2 separate regions of the Homo sapiens genome follow, and region 1 is linked to region 2. Evidence: promoter capture Hi-C in 16 types of primary human blood cells and fetal thymus (Javierre and others, 2016). All regions are on one chromosome and are shown on one strand. Each heading gives the region's core, a stretch centred on a gene start or on the middle of the fragment in contact. The rest is flanking DNA. Distances are from core to core; before and after follow the strand shown.

Region 1 (4,176 bases), core at 1,150-3,649, 370 kb before region 2:
TAACTGTTGAACTGAAATGCCTTTTGCTTAAAATAATCTTTATACCATCTCTGGGGTTCCGAGTGGGTTTCTCCATCGCCAAATCTCATTAGCTTCTAACTGTAAAAATCTGTTTCTCACTCAGACCACACATCGGCTATGTCTTGCTGACAGTGCTGCTCCTGTGTCCTCTTCATTCCTGGACTCAGTCTGAAAGGGCAGCCATCAGACTTGTCATTTTGTTGTGGCGAAGGAAAAGAGAAATGACTGAGCCATGCTGTTTCTGAGAGCTGCTGTTTGGATGTGCAGTTTATCACTTCTACTCACTACCATTGGCCAAAGCAAGTCAGTTGGCCAAGCCCGCTATTAGTGGCAGCAGAGAGGTCTACGCCTTCTATAGACAGGTCATGGCAATGACAGGGAAACTGGTAAGGAAATCTTACTGGTAAAGGCAGTGAACAATTGGAAACAATACATTAATACAATTTATCAGTCGCCAAAGGTTTACTCTTGCCTTTCCATTCTGCTTAGAAAAGTTTCAGAGAAGTAAGGCTTGAATTGGCCTTTCAAGGATGATTCCAGGCAGGGGTGAAATAGATGCTAATGCAGGAATATTTGGAAAATAAGAAAAAATCCCAAAAGGCCAGGTCACATGGAGTGGAGAGAAATGGTGACAATAAAGTTGAAGATCTGGTGGGGCCAAATAGTAAAATTGGGACAAATGAGACATTCTGGTTTTCTGCTTTTCAAACATTTCCACCAAAGCCTTCCTGATGGCCAAGGGGAATTAGTACACTTCCTGAGGTTTAGAAAATCATCTTTGAAGGTTTGAGTGACATCTTAAAAAGTAACAAAAAGTTTGCATTCTGCTTCAGAAATATTCAATTTGGTTTTATTATGAAAACAATGTTTTACTCACCTGAAAATCTTCAAAGAAAATTGACACCTTGGGAAGTAGCCCCATGTTCAGCCAGGTCTGTGCTCTGATTTGATATGCTTTCTGGCACCAGACTGAGTGCCCCACTGGAGAAGTCTGCTTCTTTCCCCTTTTCTCCAGATGTAAACATCTTCCAAATAAAAGGAGAAGAAAAATATGTAACCTCTCTTTGTGACATACAAGTTCTGGTATAGATTAATTTACCTTCTTAGCTATATTGTTTCGATCCCTTTTTCTTGGGCTATTTATTGTTACTCCATCTGTTTGCCCATTACAAATGGGGAATTAAACTCTGTCGTTGTGATTATACTTCCACCAGCCCATTTCTCCCTTCATTCACACATGTTGTTACTGCTGTCTGGAATATATTTGCATGGTGCCTTCCACTTTGTCCCTTGTCTTCCAAATCAATCCCTATTTACCTTTTTAAACCACCTCAGGCTGAGAGCAGTGGCTCACACCTGTAATCCTAGCATTTTGGGAGGCCAAGGCGGGCAGATCACCTGAGGTCAGGAGTTCGAGACCAGCCTGGCCAACGTGGCAAAACCCCGTCTCTACTAAAAAATACAAAAATTAGCTGGGCATGGTGGCACACGCCTGTAATGCCAGCTACTTGGGAGGCTGAGGCAGGAGAATCACTTGAACCTGGGAGGTGGAGGTTGCAGTGAGCTGAGATCGTGCCACTGCACTCCAGTCTAGGCAACAGAGTGAGACTCTGTCTCAAAAACAAAACAAACCCACCTCACCACCTCTGTGAAGGCTTCCCCCATCCTGGCATGCTAGTCACTCCCATCCTGGGGAACGGCCACTGTGCTACTGTGTGAACAGAAATATGGCAGCATCTACAGAAACTAAAAATGCAAATACCCTTTGATCCACCAATTCTACTTCTAGGAATCTTTCCTACAAAATATTTGTTCCTGTGCGCGAACGTGTATGTACAAAGAATGCCCAGCGAACTGGAAAACGAAGGGACTGTCCATCAATGTGAGGATTGTGAAATAAGCTACGGCACCAGAATACTATGCAGCCATGAAAAAAAAAATGAAGTACGTATATGTACAGATCACCCAGATTTTGTTAAGCCGAAAGGTGAATCACAACATATTATATAATGAAAACATACAATGCCATGAAAGCTTCATATGAGTGCAAAGTGTTAGCAGAATGCATATTAAATTGTTACGGTTGTCACAACTATAGCACAAAGGAAGTTGAGGTTGGTGGTAACAGTGCTGTAGGACTTCACTTTTTACTGCAGGCAATTTAGGGTTGCTGAAATCTTTTATGACTGGAGTATATTTGGATATTGTTTGCCATAATTAAACCAACTAAAATGCCTAAAACTAAAGTAAAATAATACCAATTGTTTATTTTATTTTATTTTATTTCATCTTTTTAAGACAGGGTTTTGCTTTGTTACCCATATTGGAGTGCAGTGGCACCACCATGGCCTACTGCAGCCTCAACCTCCCAGGCTCAGGTGATCCTCCCACCTCAGCCTCCCAAGTAGCTGTGACTATAAGCATGCACCACTATGCCTGGCTAACTTTTTTTTTTCAATTTTTGTAGAGACAAGGTCTCACTATTTTGCCCAGGCCGGTCTCTAACTCCGGAGATCAAGCAATTCTCCCACCTTGTCCTCCCAAAGTGCTGGAATTACAAGTGTGAGCCAACAGTCCTAGCCTCCAATTTATTTTAGCATATTTATAAAATTCAGAAAAAATGAAGAAAATAATAAAAATCACCAGTAGAATTGTCACTTTCTGAAAACAAAATCATTTAAAAGTTGGTCATGTGCAATATTCTTTTCTTTTGATAAGCTTCACTCTGAAATTAAGACACCCAGAAGACAGTATTTTATGAAACTTACCTCTAAATAGCTTTCATTGGTTGACTTAATTTTTTTAGCAGCTAATAAAGTACAATCTCAAAACACTGATGGTAATCACAACTGACTATAAAACTGTTGAGGGAAAATTATGACAGAAACCTGGGCTACTAAAAGTTCTAATGCAAGATAAATTTCTGGACTTGTGTTTAAAAGAGAGTTTGACTAAAACTAATGAGTTTATATGACCTAATTCAACCAATCACATCTGGCATTACTGCAGTTTATTACCCGCTTTCATCAAATCAATAATCTTGGTTATATAAAGCATGCTTCAGTCGTTTCCATTTTCTTTTATCATCAGGAGTACTGGGTAAGAGCTGGAGTAACTAATGGAAATTCCTCTCATTCTTCATCAAGCTGAGTTAGAGGTTTCCTGAAGCTGAGTTGCTATAACCCTATAAATTGTTAAAAGCCTCACCCCCAGAAGGCTACGCACTGCAACGTTCTTCCCCAATGTACTTGGCCTTATGCATGCCCTGCGCTGCATTCTTCTTTATTAGCACTGTTATATTATTTATTTTAAAAGTCACATTCATTTTATAAAGCGTCTTGGGACTAGGATGCTTTTCCAATCCACTTTTGTTTGGATGACGATCCCATTACTGTATTTATGCCCCAATAACACCAAGAAATCATCCCTGAGGGCACCATGTAACACGTATAATGTTATCAGATTTAGAGGTGCTGGGCACTCCTGTGATCTGTAAGGAACACCCACTACTGTCCTTGTGGAGAAAATGAGGCCCAAGGCAGTTAGGTCACTTGTCCAGCTTATAGCCATCAATGTCTGATGGATTTCCAACAGCAAAAGTTGTTTTGCAGCCAGCCAGGCACTTGGTAGTGCGTGCCTATAATCCCAGCTAATGGGAGGAGTTCAATTCCAGCCTGAGCAACATAATGAGACCGCATCTCTCTCTCTCTCTCTTTTTTTTTTTTTTTTTGAGACGGAGTCTCTCTCTGTCCCCCACGCTGGAGTGCAGTGGCGCGCTGTCGGCTCACTGCAAGCTCCGCTTCCCGGGTTCACGACATTCTCCTGCCTCAGTCTCCGGAGTAGCTGGGACTACAGGCACCTGCCACCACGCCCGGCTAACTTTTTTGTATTTTTAGTAGAGACGGGGTTTCACCATGTTAGCCAGGATGGTCTCGATCTCCTGACCTCGTGATCCACCCGCCTCGACCTCCCAAAGTGCTGGGATTACAAGGGTAAGCCACCGCGCCCGGCCAACCCCATCTCTTACAAAAAAAAAAAAAAAAAATGTTGTTTTGCCCCAGCAGCAGAATGGATTCTGATTTAGGGGCAATAAGATGTCTGTTAATGGAGATAGATGAAGAGGCAGGCTGTTTCTGAATCCCTGTGCCTGTTTTA
Region 2 (3,573 bases), core at 317-2,816:
GGTCTGGAAAATGTCTGGGCCATTCCCTCATTTCACGGAGGAGGAAATGGGTTAGTGTGTAATTGTTTTTATCATCACCCTTGTTTTATCTTTCAATCTGCCAGGCTCACTCAATGCTACATCCTGCAGTCCCCACCCACTGGAGAAACAATCCGATCCTGCAAGTAATTATTGAGTGCGGACGGCATACCTCACCTCCAGACCTGCCCATTAAACCCAGAACGGAGGTGTTTTGCTCTCTGCGCTAGATCGGTATTTTCCCCTACCACTTTAAGATTACGCTTCAGGCCAGTGTTAGGCTTTCTGGTGGGGTGGGACGCAACAGGCGGCCTCCTCCACCGCAGCGATGGCGGCTATGAAACCTCTGGGTATTTGGGCGGGAGGCGCGGCAGGTATTCTCCCAAAACTGGGTTTTCAAGACCACCACTCTCTGCGGAGGCCGACCCGGCAGGTAAGGAACTGTCCATCGGAAGGCAACGGGCGTGGCGTGAGCAGCCCGACCAATCAGCAGAGCCGCCGTTCAGTCAGGCTCCCCGCCCGGGGTACCCGCCCAGTCCCCAACCACTGAGCATGCGCCGCGGGCCTGGCGCAAATCCCCGCCTGGCGCGCCCTCTCCGCGGCCCTGTGAGGGTTAGGCTGCGCCGGGCTTCCTCAGAGAGACAGAAACGGAGCCGGGGCGGGAGCGGGCCCTTAGGGACAGGAAAGCGGTTAGGGTATTGGGGGGAAAGTCCCTCACAGGGTGGCTGTCGCTAGCGGCCGCCAGCTCTGCGTCACGGTGGGCTCGCAAGCCGGCGCATCGCAGTTTCCCTGGTACCCCGCCTGGCGGTCCGGCGCGGAGGGGCGGCAGACCGGCTAAATCGGCCCCAGTGAGGGCCGCCGTGTCACCTGAGCCCCTTCCAGGCCGTTGTCCTCAGGTTACAGGCGACATAACCGAGGCTCCGAAGTATTGCCCACGTCCAAGGTGACGCAGCTGGCCGTCCCGGCGGGCCGGAGTCTGGGAGTCTCCCACGCCTGGCCCGGCCCAACCGTCATCGTCCCGCCGCGAGCTCCGTGCCTCCGGGGACTGAACGGTGGGGAGGCCGAGGCGCCACACGAGCGCGCGGCGCCCCGCGCCAGGTTCCGAGCAGGGACGCTCCGTCCAGGTCCGCCTGGCCGGCCGCGGGTTCCGATCGGTGCCACATAAATAAAGGCTACTTTCCTGAGACCTCTGTCCCCGCAGAGGCCCCGGGCGCAGAGGGGGGGCGTGGTGCACCGAGCTCCGACCCTGCCGGTGACTTCGGGGTCCCCTCGAGCGCAGCCGGGCTCCCTGGGCAGGAAACCCTGCTCCGAAACCGCGCATCGTCCAGCCTCGGCTGTGCGCCCTCTTGGTGGCGTGCGCAGTCCCCTCCTCCGGTCTTCGGACGTGCGGCCCGGGGCGGAGGCGGCCCCGACCCCCCACCTTCCCCAGTGAGGGTCCCGCGCGGCACGCCGCCCCTGCCAGTCCGGCCGCCTAGCTCCAGCGCCGGGCCGCGCCGACCTGCCTGGCCCGCCGTCCCGCCGCGGCGGCCCCTCCTCCGCCGTCCGGGCGCCCCGCCCCGCCCGCGCCGCGCCGGACACCCCGCCCCGAGGAGGCGGCCCGGCGAGTGGTCGCCGAGGGAGGCTGGTGGCATGGGGGAGCCGCCGCCGCCACACGCACGGTCGCCCGGAGCGAGCCCGGGCGCTGCTGCGATCGCGGGGGGCCGCGGACGCCGAGGGGGGCGCCTTGGGGCGTGACACGGTGCAGAGGGCGCGGCCTGGGCTGCGGCGGCCGGACTCGCGGCGAGCAGCGGGGGGAGCAGGCGGCGGCGGCGCCGGGAGCGGCGGGCGGAGCGGGCCGGGCGCCGAGGGCGCACCTGGCGGCCGCGCGGCCGGGCCGGGCCGCGGGAGCAGGCGGAGGCGGAGGCGGCGGGGGCAGGAGGATGTCGCAGCCGCCGCTGCTCCCCGCCTCGGCGGAGACTCGGAAGTTCACCCGGGCGCTGAGTAAGCCGGGCACGGCGGCCGAGCTGCGGCAGAGCGTGTCTGAGGTGGTGCGCGGCTCCGTGCTCCTGGTGAGTGCGGGACGACCGCGGGCCGGGGGAGGATGGCGGGGGCGCAGGCAGCTGCGGGCCCCGGGCCGGGCGCCTCTTAGTCGGCAGGGCTGAGGCAGAGCGGCCGACCCTGCTGGGTCCGCGGAATCAAGAGGTGGGGCCGGCGGGAGGGAGTTGGACAGGGGAGAAGAGAAGGTCCTGGAGGGGCTGCAACTCCCAGACCCCTCCCCGCCACCCAAGATCCTGTCCCCATCGCTGTCCCCTTCCTCCTGGGAAATTTCCGCAGAGTGATGTCGCCCTGTCACTCTTTTCACCCCGCTCTCTCCCAATTTACCTGCTTTCTGTCAACTGGGAAATTACACTCTCCCCCCTCCCCCGCATCCCTCCCCCGTATCCCTCCCCCGGCCTCCCTCTCCTTCCATGTTTTGGAGGGGCGCAGGGGAATTGAGGTGGGGGCTTCCTCATCCAGTCTGCGCTCAGGGTGGGAGATGCCCCTGCTAACCCTTTGAGTTGGCTGAACTCCAGGAGGGAAGGACTTCGGCATCCTCTCCTGCGCCCCCCACCTCCAAGCCGGTATCCTGAAGTTTGGCCGCCTTTTAGGAAGGCTTGGGGGGCATGATGGGAACCCTCGCTAATTTAGTATTGGTGCAAATTCCTGTGACGTTTGGGGGTTCTAAGTAAGCAAAGCCATCAGCCCAAAACGAATCTTCCCGTGGCAGAACGTCTTTAGAGAATAGGCCTCTGGGTGTGAGGAAGATGAAGTTTTCGATTAACTTTTTCACAGCCAGCGCCGGTCCTGCTGTATTTGGAAACGCACTACAACCCGATTCACCTGGATGGTGCGGGAGTGGAGCGACGTTTGAGCAGGAGCGAGCTCTGCAGGGCAGCTGGAAACTTTTAGCAGCTCCTTGCGTTGCCGCCGGCATTTGTTTTCTTGAAACGGGCTTGTTTGTGGGTGGGTGTGACTTGTGTTTGTTGGAACAGTGCAAGAAGATGGGCCTTGGAAGTGGTTGTCTGGGCCCTGTGGGGGATTGTCGGGGCAGAGTGCCGGGCCCCTTAACACAGGGGCGGATGCATCATTTTGGTGGCAGATCGATGCCCTTCCTGGGCAGACACAGAATTGCGTGAATGACGTTTGTGGAGATTGGAGATGAAGCTTCGCTGATTTCTATATCCAGTTTGCTCAGTTTGAATTTTCTCTCGATTGCTAGCTCTGCCAACTCCAAATTTCTCCAACTCCAGTTTGATCCATAGTAAACAAGGATTTAATTTTTCTATTTTAGGGAAGTCGATTAGGTAAGGAGTAGAGCAGGAGTTGGGAATAGACCAGAACCTGGCCATCTCTTCCATAACCAGCTAACTTCTGTGTGGCTTCCTGCATCTTCCTGAGTTTTGCCAGTGCATGTTAAGGATAAAGCCTGCAACTTCTTTGGCATCTTTTCTGTTCTCACACAGAAGTTGGTTCCTTTATCTGGGGCCTGCCGTGGTCATCAGGGATTTGAGGCAGAAGAAGAGTAAATAAAGTGTA

The links. The method cuts DNA at HindIII sites, captures the fragments that hold promoters and counts their contacts. A CHiCAGO score of 5 or more calls a contact.
Region 1: a fragment that was not itself captured here is called in contact with the fragment with the promoter of DOCK9-DT in region 2 in 1 of 17 cell types (total B cells); the score reaches 5.0 in total B cells.

What each region holds. Positions count from the first base shown.
Region 1 is chr13:99,455,405-99,459,580 of GRCh38, reverse strand. No RefSeq gene overlaps it. Among named protein-coding and RNA genes, the nearest start is that of LNCARGI, 25 kb to the right of the region's middle. The HindIII fragment of the contact is 684 bases long and covers 2,058-2,741 here.
Region 2 is chr13:99,084,716-99,088,288 of GRCh38, reverse strand. It overlaps DOCK9-DT (DOCK9 divergent transcript), which reads right to left and starts at 1,566. Exons shown (of 1, transcript NR_047482.1): 1 at 1-1,566. It also overlaps a transcript of DOCK9 not described here. RefSeq lists enhancers at 1-440, 1,003-1,564 and silencers at 445-674, 1,255-1,314, 1,405-1,714, 1,755-2,234. The HindIII fragment of the contact is 5,433 bases long and covers 1-3,203 here.